2 separate regions of the Homo sapiens genome follow, and region 2 is linked to region 1. The links are contacts of gene promoters, found by promoter capture Hi-C in human tissues and cell types (Jung and others, 2019). All regions are on one chromosome and are shown on one strand. Each heading gives the region's core, a stretch centred on a gene start or on the middle of the fragment in contact. The rest is flanking DNA. Distances are from core to core; before and after follow the strand shown. Region 1 holds the start of GPR42 (G protein-coupled receptor 42). Region 2 has its middle 6.3 kb from the start of LINC01766.

The links. Contacts are between HindIII fragments. The study calls those that stand out against the background at their distance.
Region 2: a contact is called between a fragment that was not itself captured here and the fragment with the promoter of GPR42 in region 1, in 2 of the 25 tissues and cell types used here (lymphoblastoid cells and spleen).

Annotation. Positions count from the first base shown.
Region 1 is chr19:35,367,422-35,372,461 of GRCh38, reverse strand. It overlaps GPR42 (G protein-coupled receptor 42), which reads right to left and starts at 1,394. Exons shown (of 2, transcript NM_001348195.2): 1 at 1,344-1,394; 2 at 1-1,113. The coding sequence starts at 1,102. The coding sequence ends at 62. The HindIII fragment of the contact is 14,423 bases long and covers 1-5,040 here.
Region 2 is chr19:35,601,742-35,606,684 of GRCh38, reverse strand. No RefSeq gene overlaps it. Among named protein-coding and RNA genes, the nearest start is that of LINC01766, 6.3 kb to the right of the region's middle. The HindIII fragment of the contact is 5,357 bases long and covers 1-4,943 here.

The DNA.
Region 1 (5,040 bases), core at 145-2,644:
GCGTGAGCGAGGAAGCGCCCTGAGGATGACACGCCAGCTACACCCTCCTCCCCCGGAGGACCTAGTTTTCAGCACAGGCCACCTGGCCACCAGTTCCACAGCCCTGTGAGTGTTCACTGGTCTTTCTTTCAGCTGGTCGGTCCGCTCTCTGCTCCTCCCCTCCCTTCTGCTCCTTCAGCTCCATGCTGCTCTCCTGCTGCCACTGGCCCCAGAGCCCACACAACCTCCTCAGCAGCTCATGAAAGTCGGCTTGGAACCCGGAGGAGGAGAAGTAGTAGACAAAGGGGTCGACACAGGAGTTCAGGGTGCTGAGAAGCGTCACGTAGATCCTCCACACCGGGCTTTCACCGCAGATATAGCCCACGACATGGGACACGTTGTAGGGCCCAAAGCAGACAAGGAAGTTGAGCAGCGTGGCCGCCACCAGCCCCGCCACCCTCCTCTGCCGGCGGTGGCTGCCCCCTCTGCCGAGGATCCACACCAGGCGGCTGTAGCAGTAGCTGGTGATGATCAGCGGGACCACAAAGAGGACCACAGCCATCTCCAGCCGCACGGGCAGGAGGATGGCTAGCTGGTCCTTCCAGAACTCCAGGTAGCAGGTCCCATTGGTGCCCTGGCTGTGGGAGATGTCCCCTGAGAATTCTATGACGTAGACCACGCTGCAGTGAGCAGAGGCCAACAGCCAGCAGGCCACACTCACCAGACCTGCCTGCCCCAGCCTCGGCCGGGTCTTGTACCACAGTGGGTGGGCCACACTCAGGAAGCGTTCAATGCTCACAGCTGCCAGGAAGAGGGCGGTGAGATAGATGGTGGTGAAGAAGATGAATCCAGAGAGTGGGCAGAGGATGAAGGGCAGGGGCCAGTGCATGCCATTGGCTGCCTCCACCATGCGGAAAGGCAGGAACAGCAGCAGGAGCAGGTCCGAGGCGGTCAGGTTGAGCAGGAGCACGTCCACGGCCACCGGGCGGCACCGCAGCTTGCCCACGAAGACCACCAGGGCCAGCAGGTTGAGGGGGAGCCCCACCAGGAAAGTGAGAAGGTACACCGAGAAGACGAACCAGTGATTGCCGGAGAAGTAGGACTGGTCGGGGCCTGTATCCATGGTGGTGGCCACTGGTGAGAGAGAGTAACATGGAGTTGGTAGTGGGGGCCCTAACGGCCTCTGGCCAGCAGCATCTCCCCTAAAAGGGCACGAGGTCACTACGCCCACCCCTCTTGTCTCTGGGTGCCTTCCAGGCGGGGTCAGCCTGCCTGTCTTCCTGAGCATGCCCTGTCCCCTGTCCCTTCCCCAGCAGAGAAGCACCAAGGTGCTCCTCCACCCAGCCCCTCGGGCCCAGGCTCACCTGCTTCTTTGAGACCCCAAATGCTCTGCCGCACAGCACCTTGCTGTCTCTCCAGACCTAGTGCAGTTGGCTATTTATCCGGCAGAACTGATAAAGACCTGGCCGTGCCCATGACATCACTCACTGTTGAGCAGTGGCACAAAGATGCCTTGAGCTCCGTTGCCAGGGCTGGTCAGTATGCAAAAAGGGGAACAAATTCCACAACTGCGTGCCTCCCTCCTTGCGCAGCCTCAGCTGGGATGCTCCAAACAGGCCCCAGCTGACGTCTTCTTCCCCTCCCCTCTCTTCCACTTGAATTTTGTCTGATTCTCTAGAATGGCACTTATCCAGTTTGCCTTTTAAGGGCACAAAGCATGAGCCAGTGACAGACTGGACTCCGTGAGGTCTGTTCCTTCCTGACTTTGTGATGTGGGGGAAGAGATGTGTCTCTTCTTCCTCCCCTACAGAACAGGGATTGTCATAGTACCTGTACCATATTTCAAAGCATGAACACATGCAGATTAAAACATATATACAGGTAGATTAAAATGTTAATAATATAGGTCAATTGCTTTTTGAAAATATTTATTTTAGATTCGGGAGCACATGTGCAGGTTTGTTACATGGGTATATTGCATAATACTGAGGTTTGGGCTTCTATTGAACCCATTACCAAAATTGTGAACATAGTACCCAATAGGCAGTTTTCCCACCCTTGTCCTCCGCCCTCCCTCCCCCACTTTGGAGTCCCCACTGTCTATGGTTTCCATCTTTAATGTTTGCGTGTACCCATTGTTTACCTCCCACTTAAAAGTGAGAACATACAGCATTTGATTTTCTGTTTCTGTGTTAATTCACTTAGGATCATTCACTTAGGCCTCCAGCTGCATTTATGTTGCAGCAAAGGACATGATTTCATTCTTTTTTATAGCTGCATAGTATTTCGTGATGTGTATGTACCATTTTTTCTTTATCTAGTCCACCATTGATGGGCACCTAAGTTGATTCCATCACTTTGCCATTGTGAATAGTGCTGTGACAAACATACACATGCAGGTGTCTTTTTGGTAGAATGATTCCATTTTATGAAAAATGACATTGATAATTTGGTAGGAATTGGGTGGAATCTGTAGATTGCTTTGAGCAGTATGGACATTTTAATGATATTGATTCTTCTAATCCATGAACATGGAATGTTTTTCATTTATTTGTGTTTTTTAGTTCTCCTTGTAGAGATCTTTCACTTTCACTTCCTTGGTTAGATGTATTCCTAGGTATTTTATTTTTGTGTGTGGCTATTGTAATTGGGATTCTGTTCTTTATTTGGCTCACAGCTTGACAATTGTTGGTATATAGTAATGCTACTGATTTTTATACACTGATTTTGCATCCTGAAACTGCCAGTCATTTATCAGGTCTAGGAGTATTTTGGAGGAATCTGTAGGGTTTTCTAGGTATAGAATCATATCATCAGTGAACAGAGATAATTTGACTTCCCCTTTCTATTTGGATGCCTTTTATTCCTTTTTCTTGCCTGATTGCTCTGGCTAGGACTTCCACTACTATGTTGAATAGGAGTAGTGGGAGTAGGCATCCCTGTCTTTTTCCATTTCTTAGGGGGAATGCTTCCAACGTTTGCCCATTCAGTATGATGTTGGCTGTGAGTTTGTCCTGGATGGCTCTTATTATTTTGAGGTGTGTTCCTTCGATGTTTAGTTTTTTGAGGGTTTTTATCATGAAGGGATGTTGGATTTTATTATATGTTTTTTTCTGCATCTATTGAGATGATCATATAATTTTTGTTTTTAATTTTATGTGGTGAGTCACATTTATTGATTTGCATATATTGAAACATCTTTGCATCCCAGGAATAAAGCCCACTTGATCATGCTGAATTATGATTTTGTCATGCTGCTGGATTTGGTTTGCTAGTATTTTATTGAGGATTTTTGGATCTATGTTCATCGGGCTATTGGCCTACAGTTTTCTTTTTTCACTGTGTCCTGCCAGATTACGATATCAGAATCAGACTGTTTTTGTAGAATGAGTAGGGAATCTCTCCTCCTCAATTTTCTGGTAAAGTTTCAGTAGGATTGGTACCATCTCTTCTTTGCAGGTCTGGTAGAGTTTGGCTGTGAATCCATCTGGTCAAGGGCTTTTTAAAGGTGGTAGATATTTTATTACTGATTCAATTTTGTAACTCATTATTGGTCTGCTCAGAGTTTCAATTTCTTTCTGGTTCAATCTTGGTTGTATGTTTCCAGAAATTTATTTGTTTCCTCTAGATTTTCTGATTCATGTGAATATAGATGTTCATCGCAGTCTCTGAGGATCTTTTGTATTTCTGTGGAATTAGTTGTAATCTTGTCTGTGTTATTTCTGATTGTGCTTTTTTGGAGGTTTTTTTTTTTCCTTTGTTAATCTAGCTTGCAGCCTATAAATCTTGTTTATTCTTTCAAAGAACCAATTTTTCATTTCATTGATCCTTTGAATGGCTTATTTGTCACAATTTCGTTTAGCTCTACTCTGATTTTAGTTATTTCTTTTCTTCTGCTAGCTTTGGATTTAGTTTGCTCTTGTTTTTCTAGTTCCTTCAGGTGTAATGTTAGGTTATTAATTTGAGATCTTTCTAACTTCTTGATGTAGGCATTTAGTGATATAAAATTTCCTCTTAAAACTGCTTTTGCTGTATCCCAGAGGTTTTGGTATGTTGTGCCTCTATTTTCAGTTGTTTCAAAGAAGTTTTTGACTTCTGCCTTAATTTTTTGACTTCTTCCTTAATGACTTACCCCAAAGTCATTCAGGAAATAGTTGTTTAGTTTCCATGTATTTGTGTGATTTTGAGAATTCTATTTTTATTCCACTGTGGTCTGAGAAGAAGGTTGGTATAATTTTCATTTCTTTAAATTTATGGAGATTTGCTTCATGACTAAGCATTGGGTCAATCTTAGAGTATCTTCTGTGTGCAGATGAGAAGAACGTATATTTTGTGGTTGTTGGGTAGAGTATTCTGTAGATGTCTATTAGGTCCATTTGATCATGTGTCCAATTTAAGTCCAGAATTTCTTTGTTAGTTTTCTGCCTCAATGATCTGTCTAATGCTGTCAATGGGCTGTTGAAGAACCCCACTATTATTGTGTGGCTGTCCATCTCTTTTCTTAGGTATCGTAGTAATTGTTTTATAAATCTAGGTACTCCAGCGTTGGGTGTTTATATATATAGGATGTTAAATCTTCTTGTTTAATCGAACCCTTTATCATTAGGAAGTGCCCTTATTTGTGCTTTTTTACTGTTGTTGGTTTAAAGTCTGTTTTATCTCATACAACAATAGCAACCCTTTGTTTTCCATTTGCATGAGAGATCTTTCTCCAACCCTTTGAGGGTTTGGGTATCATTATATGTGAGATGGGTCTCTTTAAGACAGCAGAAGGTTGGGTCTCATATTTTTATCCAATTTTCCACACTATGTCTTTTAAGTGGAGTGTATAGGCCATTTACATTCAAGGTTAATATGTGAGGTTTTGTCCCTGTTGTGATTTATCTTCGTGTTGTTAGTTAATTACTTTGTAGTCTTGGTTGGGTAGTTGCTTTATAGGGTCTGTGGGCTTTGTACTTATGTGTGCTTTTGTGGTAGCAAGTATCATTCTTTTGTTTTCATGCTTACAGCTTCTTTGAGCATTTCTTGTTGGACCAGTCTGGTGGTGATGAATTCTCTTAC
Region 2 (4,943 bases), core at 1,172-3,671, 230 kb before region 1:
CACCTGTAGTCCTAGCTACTCAGGAGGCTGAGGCATGAGAATCACTTGAACCTGGGAGCCAGAAGTTGCAGTGAGCTGAGATTGTGCCACTGCATTCCAGTCTGGGTGACATAGTGTGACCCTGTCTCAAAAAAAAATTTAATAAAATGAAATAAAAATAACAAGGAGGGTGGGGGGAAGGAGGCAATCCATATCTGTTACAGAGGCTCTCTACAATCAGAACCTGACCAGAACTCTAACCAGTTTGTTAACAGCCATTGAGATCCCCTCAAGAGCTGTGGTTTTTTGATAGACCATGGTAGCTCAGATTAGATGTCAACTGAAGAATCATGAGGTTTTGATATGGTTTGGCTGTCCCCACCCAAATCTCATCTTGAATTGTAGTTCCCCAAATCCCCATGTGTTGTGGGAGGGACCTAGTGGGAGGTAATCGAATCATGGGGGTGGTTACCCCCATGCTGCTGTTCTTGAGATAGTGAGTTCTCACGAGATCTGATGGTTTTATAAGGGGCTTTTCCCTCTTTGCTTGGCACTTCTCCTTCCTGCTGCCATCTGAGGAAGGACGTTTTTGCTTTCTTTTCCACCATGATTTTAAGTTCCCTGAGGCCTCCCCAACCCTGCGGAACTGTGAGTCAATTAAACCTCTTTCCTTTATAAATTACCCAGTCTTGGGCAGTTCTTTTCAGCAGCGTGAGAACAGACTAATACAGGTTTACAAATTTGGAAAGGAGAGCTTTATTTCTCATAAAGAGTTGCAGCCTGCAGCCGGGCCATCTCACAGGCCGAGAAGTGTAGCCTCCGGTAGAAGCTGAGAGCAGGCACCTCCAGTAAGGGAAGGATAAGGTCAGAGTTAACGCTGAATGGCTTGGCTCAGTATACATATTCAACAGGTTATAGGAGGAGCTATGAATATTCATGAAGGGAAGGTACAGCACATGTGTAGTAACATCCCATATTCACTTTTTTTTTTTTTTTTTTTTTTTTTTGAGATGGAGTCTTACTCTGTCACCCAGGCTGTAGTGTAGTGGTGCGATCTCAGCTCACTGCAACCTCTCTTTCCCAGGGTTCAAGCAATTCTCCTGCCTCAGCCTCATGAGTAGCTGGGATTACAGGCACCCATCACCATGCCTGGCTAATTTTTTTATTTTTAGTAGAGACAGGGTTTCACCATGTTGGCCAGGCTGGTCTCAAACTCCTGACCTCAGGTGATCCGCCCACCTTGGCCTCCCAAAGTGCTGGGATTACAGGCGTGAGCCACCGTGCCAGGCCCCATGTTCACTTTGGAGTGGAGACTTAACACTTAAATGTATTACAATTAGGCCCTATACATCAAAAGGTGATGCAGAGGACACAAAGGCCCTTTGTGTGCAGCCTCTGTAGACTGGCCAGAGCCACACCCCGTGGTTAGGTGGCCTCTGATCAGGAAGGAATGCTGGTCAGTTGTTATGTTGAAACCACAAAAGGGAGGAGCAGCCATGTATTTCAGGCCATTGGTTGAAATTAGCAGTGAATGAGTCTTTCAATAGGGCTGGTTTCTGTTTAACCCTTAGGGAAGAAAGCTTCATGGCAGTCAGCAAGGGAGGAGGTAGAATGAGGTGTGCCCGACCACCCGTTCAGTCACGGCTAGGAACTCAGCTTTTAGTGTTTCTCTGTAGGCCCCTTGGCCAAGACAGTGTTCATTCAGCCAGTTGGCGGACTTAGGATTTTATTTTTGTCACGTGCGTCCGTGTGAAGAGACCATCAAACAGGCTTTGTGTGAGCAGTAAAAGCTTTTTAATCACCTGGGTGCAGGCGGACTGAGTCCGAAAAAGGAGTCAGCAAAGGGAGATAGGAGTGAGGCAGTTTTATAGGATTTGGGTAGGTAGTGGAAAATTACAGTTAAAGGGGGTTGTTCTCTTGCAGGCAGGGGCGGGGGTCACAAGGTGCTCGGTGGGGAGCTCCGGAGACTTATTGTCCAGGAGAAGGAATGTCACAAGGTAATGTCATCAGTTAAGGCAGGAGCTGGCCATTTTCACTTGTTTTTGTGGTTCTTCAGTTGCCTCAGGCCATCTGGATGTATACATGCAGGCTTGGGCTCAGACACCTGACAATTTTTATTTCTCACAGGTCTCTTATTTACAGCCTCCTGACAAGGATTCTTTGCTTGGCCAAACTTTAGTCAGGCTTCTGAACCTGGGCCGGGCCCAGTGGCTCATGCCTGTAATCCCAGGACTTTGGGAGGCTGAGGCAGGTGGATCACCTGATCTCAGGAGTTTGAGACCAGCCTGGCCAACATGGAGAACCCCAGCTCTACTAAAAATATAAAAATTAGCCGGGCGGCCAGGCGCGGTGGCTCACGCCTGTAATTCCTACACTTTGGGAGGCCAAGGCAGGTGGATCACCTGGGGTCAGGAGTTTTAAGACCAGCCTGGCCAACATGATGAAATCCCATCTCTACTAAAAATAAAAAAATTAGCCAGGCGTGGCGGCAGGCGCATGTAATCCCAGCTACTCAGGAGGTGGAGGCAGGAGAATCACTTGAACCTGGGAGGCAGAGGTTGCAGTGAGCCGAGATCATGCCACTGTACTCCAGCCTGAGTGAGAGAGCGAGACCCCGTCTCAAAAAAAAAAAAAAAAGAAAAGAAAAGAAAAAAAAAAAAAAAAAAAAAAGAAAGGCTGGGCACGGTGGCTCACGCCTATAATTCCAGCACTTTGAGAGGCCGAGGCGGGCATATCACGAAGTCAGGAGTTCAAGACCAGCCTCACCAACATGGTGAAACCCCATCTCTATTAAAACTATAAAAAATTAGCTGGTTGAGGTGGTGAGCACCTGTAATCCTAGCTACTCAGGAGGCTGAGGCAGGAAAATGGCTTGAATACGGGAGGCGGAAGCTGTAGTGAGCCAAGATTGCACCACTGCATTCCAGCCTGGGTGACAGAGTGAGACTCCATCTCAAAAAAAAAAAAAAAAGCATCTGAACCTTCTCCTTCTGTGCACTTCTTTGTAAAATCCAGTTGTAGCAAAAGAACCCTTCTACGTCAGTTTAGCTAGAAACCCTCATCCTCTGTATCTGATACACCTCGGCATCTGATCAGGTTCCTCATCCTCCACCATCCCCCTGGTGATGTCTGGTCACCCTGGCCTGTCTTCAACTAGAATCCTATTAGGTTGGTTTAGTCAGAATCCCCCTTACCCTCAATGTTTTCTCTTACTAATTTTCCATCCACTGACCCCTACCCTGCTCCTTGGGTAGGACTTCCCACTTGCTCATGCTGTATTTAGTGTTGAGCCCCATCTTTCTCCTCCAGTGCAGGCCCCTGTCTCAGTATTCCCTCTGCATATTGCAATGGTCCTGAATAAAGTCTGCCTTACTGTCTTTTTCTTTTTGAGATGGAGTCAGTTTTGCTCTGTCCCACAGGTTGGAGTGCAGTGGCACAATCTCGAACCACTGCAACCTCTGCCTCCCAGGTTCAAGCAATTCTCATGCCTCAGCCTCCTGAGTAGCTGGGATTACAGGTGCACACCACCACGCCTGGCTAATTTTGTATTTTTAGTAGAGACAAGGTTTCACCATGTTGGCCAGGCTGGTCTTGAACTCCCAAGCTCAAGTGATCCGCCCGCCTCGGCCTCCCAAAGTGCTGAGATTACAGGCATGAGCCACTGTGCCTGGCCCGCCTTACTGTCTGTAACGAGTGTCATTAAACAAGTGTTTCTTTAGTAACCCTTCCCAAGTTTTCTTCCATTATATATTGGACCACTCCGATTGTCACTGTCTGGTGGCATGTCTGTCTCTCACCCCAATTTATATGTTCTGAGGGGGTTGAGTTGAATTTGAAGTAGTCATTGCTACGTCTCCAGAGTCAGGTAGCACAGCCAACGCCCTTGGTAGGCAGAACTAGACTTGCGATGTGAATACATGAATCTGGGCAGGCTGTCCTCGAGCAACGGGGTCCTCCTCTCTCTCCCATGTCCCCCACGCCATAGCAGGGTCCTGGAGTTGGTCTTGAGTTCTGGTCGAGTGGGCTGCTGGCACTACCACTTCCTTCCCTTCAAGCTGCTGACCCAGGCTGGCAACACTTGTGTGATACTGTGACATATATATTTGGTCTAGGTCCCATTTTGTGGCCCAGAGCTCCTAAAACCCTTGGAATCGCTGGAGTGATAATAGTGTTTTGTTTTTTTTTTTTTTGACGGAGTCTCGCTGTGTTGCCCAGGCTGGAGTGCAGTGGCATGATCTCAGCTCTCTGCAACCTCCACCTCCTGGGTTCAAGCGATTCTCCTGCCTCAGCCTCCTGAGTAGCTGGGATTATAGGCGTATGCCATCACACCTGTCTAATTTTTGTATTTTTAGTAGAGACGGGGTTTTGCCATGTTGGCCAGGCTGGTCTCAAACTCCTGGCTTCAAGCGATCTTCCTGCCTCAGCCGCCCAAAGTGCTGGGATTACAGGCCTGAGCTACTGCACCTGGCCAGCTGGAACAAATTAATCAGGCTTGAGGAGGGGGGTCATGGGAACACCTGATTTATAGCTTGTCAGTCACAAGTCTAGGTGACAACTTACCACTTGTGGCTGACATCCAAATTTGGGGGCAGTCTTGTGGAACTGAGCCTTCAACCTGTGGGATCTGATGCCATCTCCAGGTAGATAGTGTCAGAATTGAATTAAATTACAGGACACCCAGTTGGTGTCTGCTGGAGAATCTGGTTGGTTGGTAGGTGGGGAAAATACCCCTGCCCCTGGCTCTAACATTTGGTGTTAGAAGTGTTATGCTGAGGCCTGGTATGGTGGCTCACACCTGTAATCCCAGCACTTTGGGAAGCTAAGGTGAGTGGATCACCTGAGGTCAGGAGTTTGAGACCAGCCTGGCCAACACGGTGAAACCCCGTCTCTACTAAAAATACAAAATTAGCTGGGCATGGTGGTACGCACCTGTAATCCCAGCTACTCAGGAGGCTGAGGCAGAA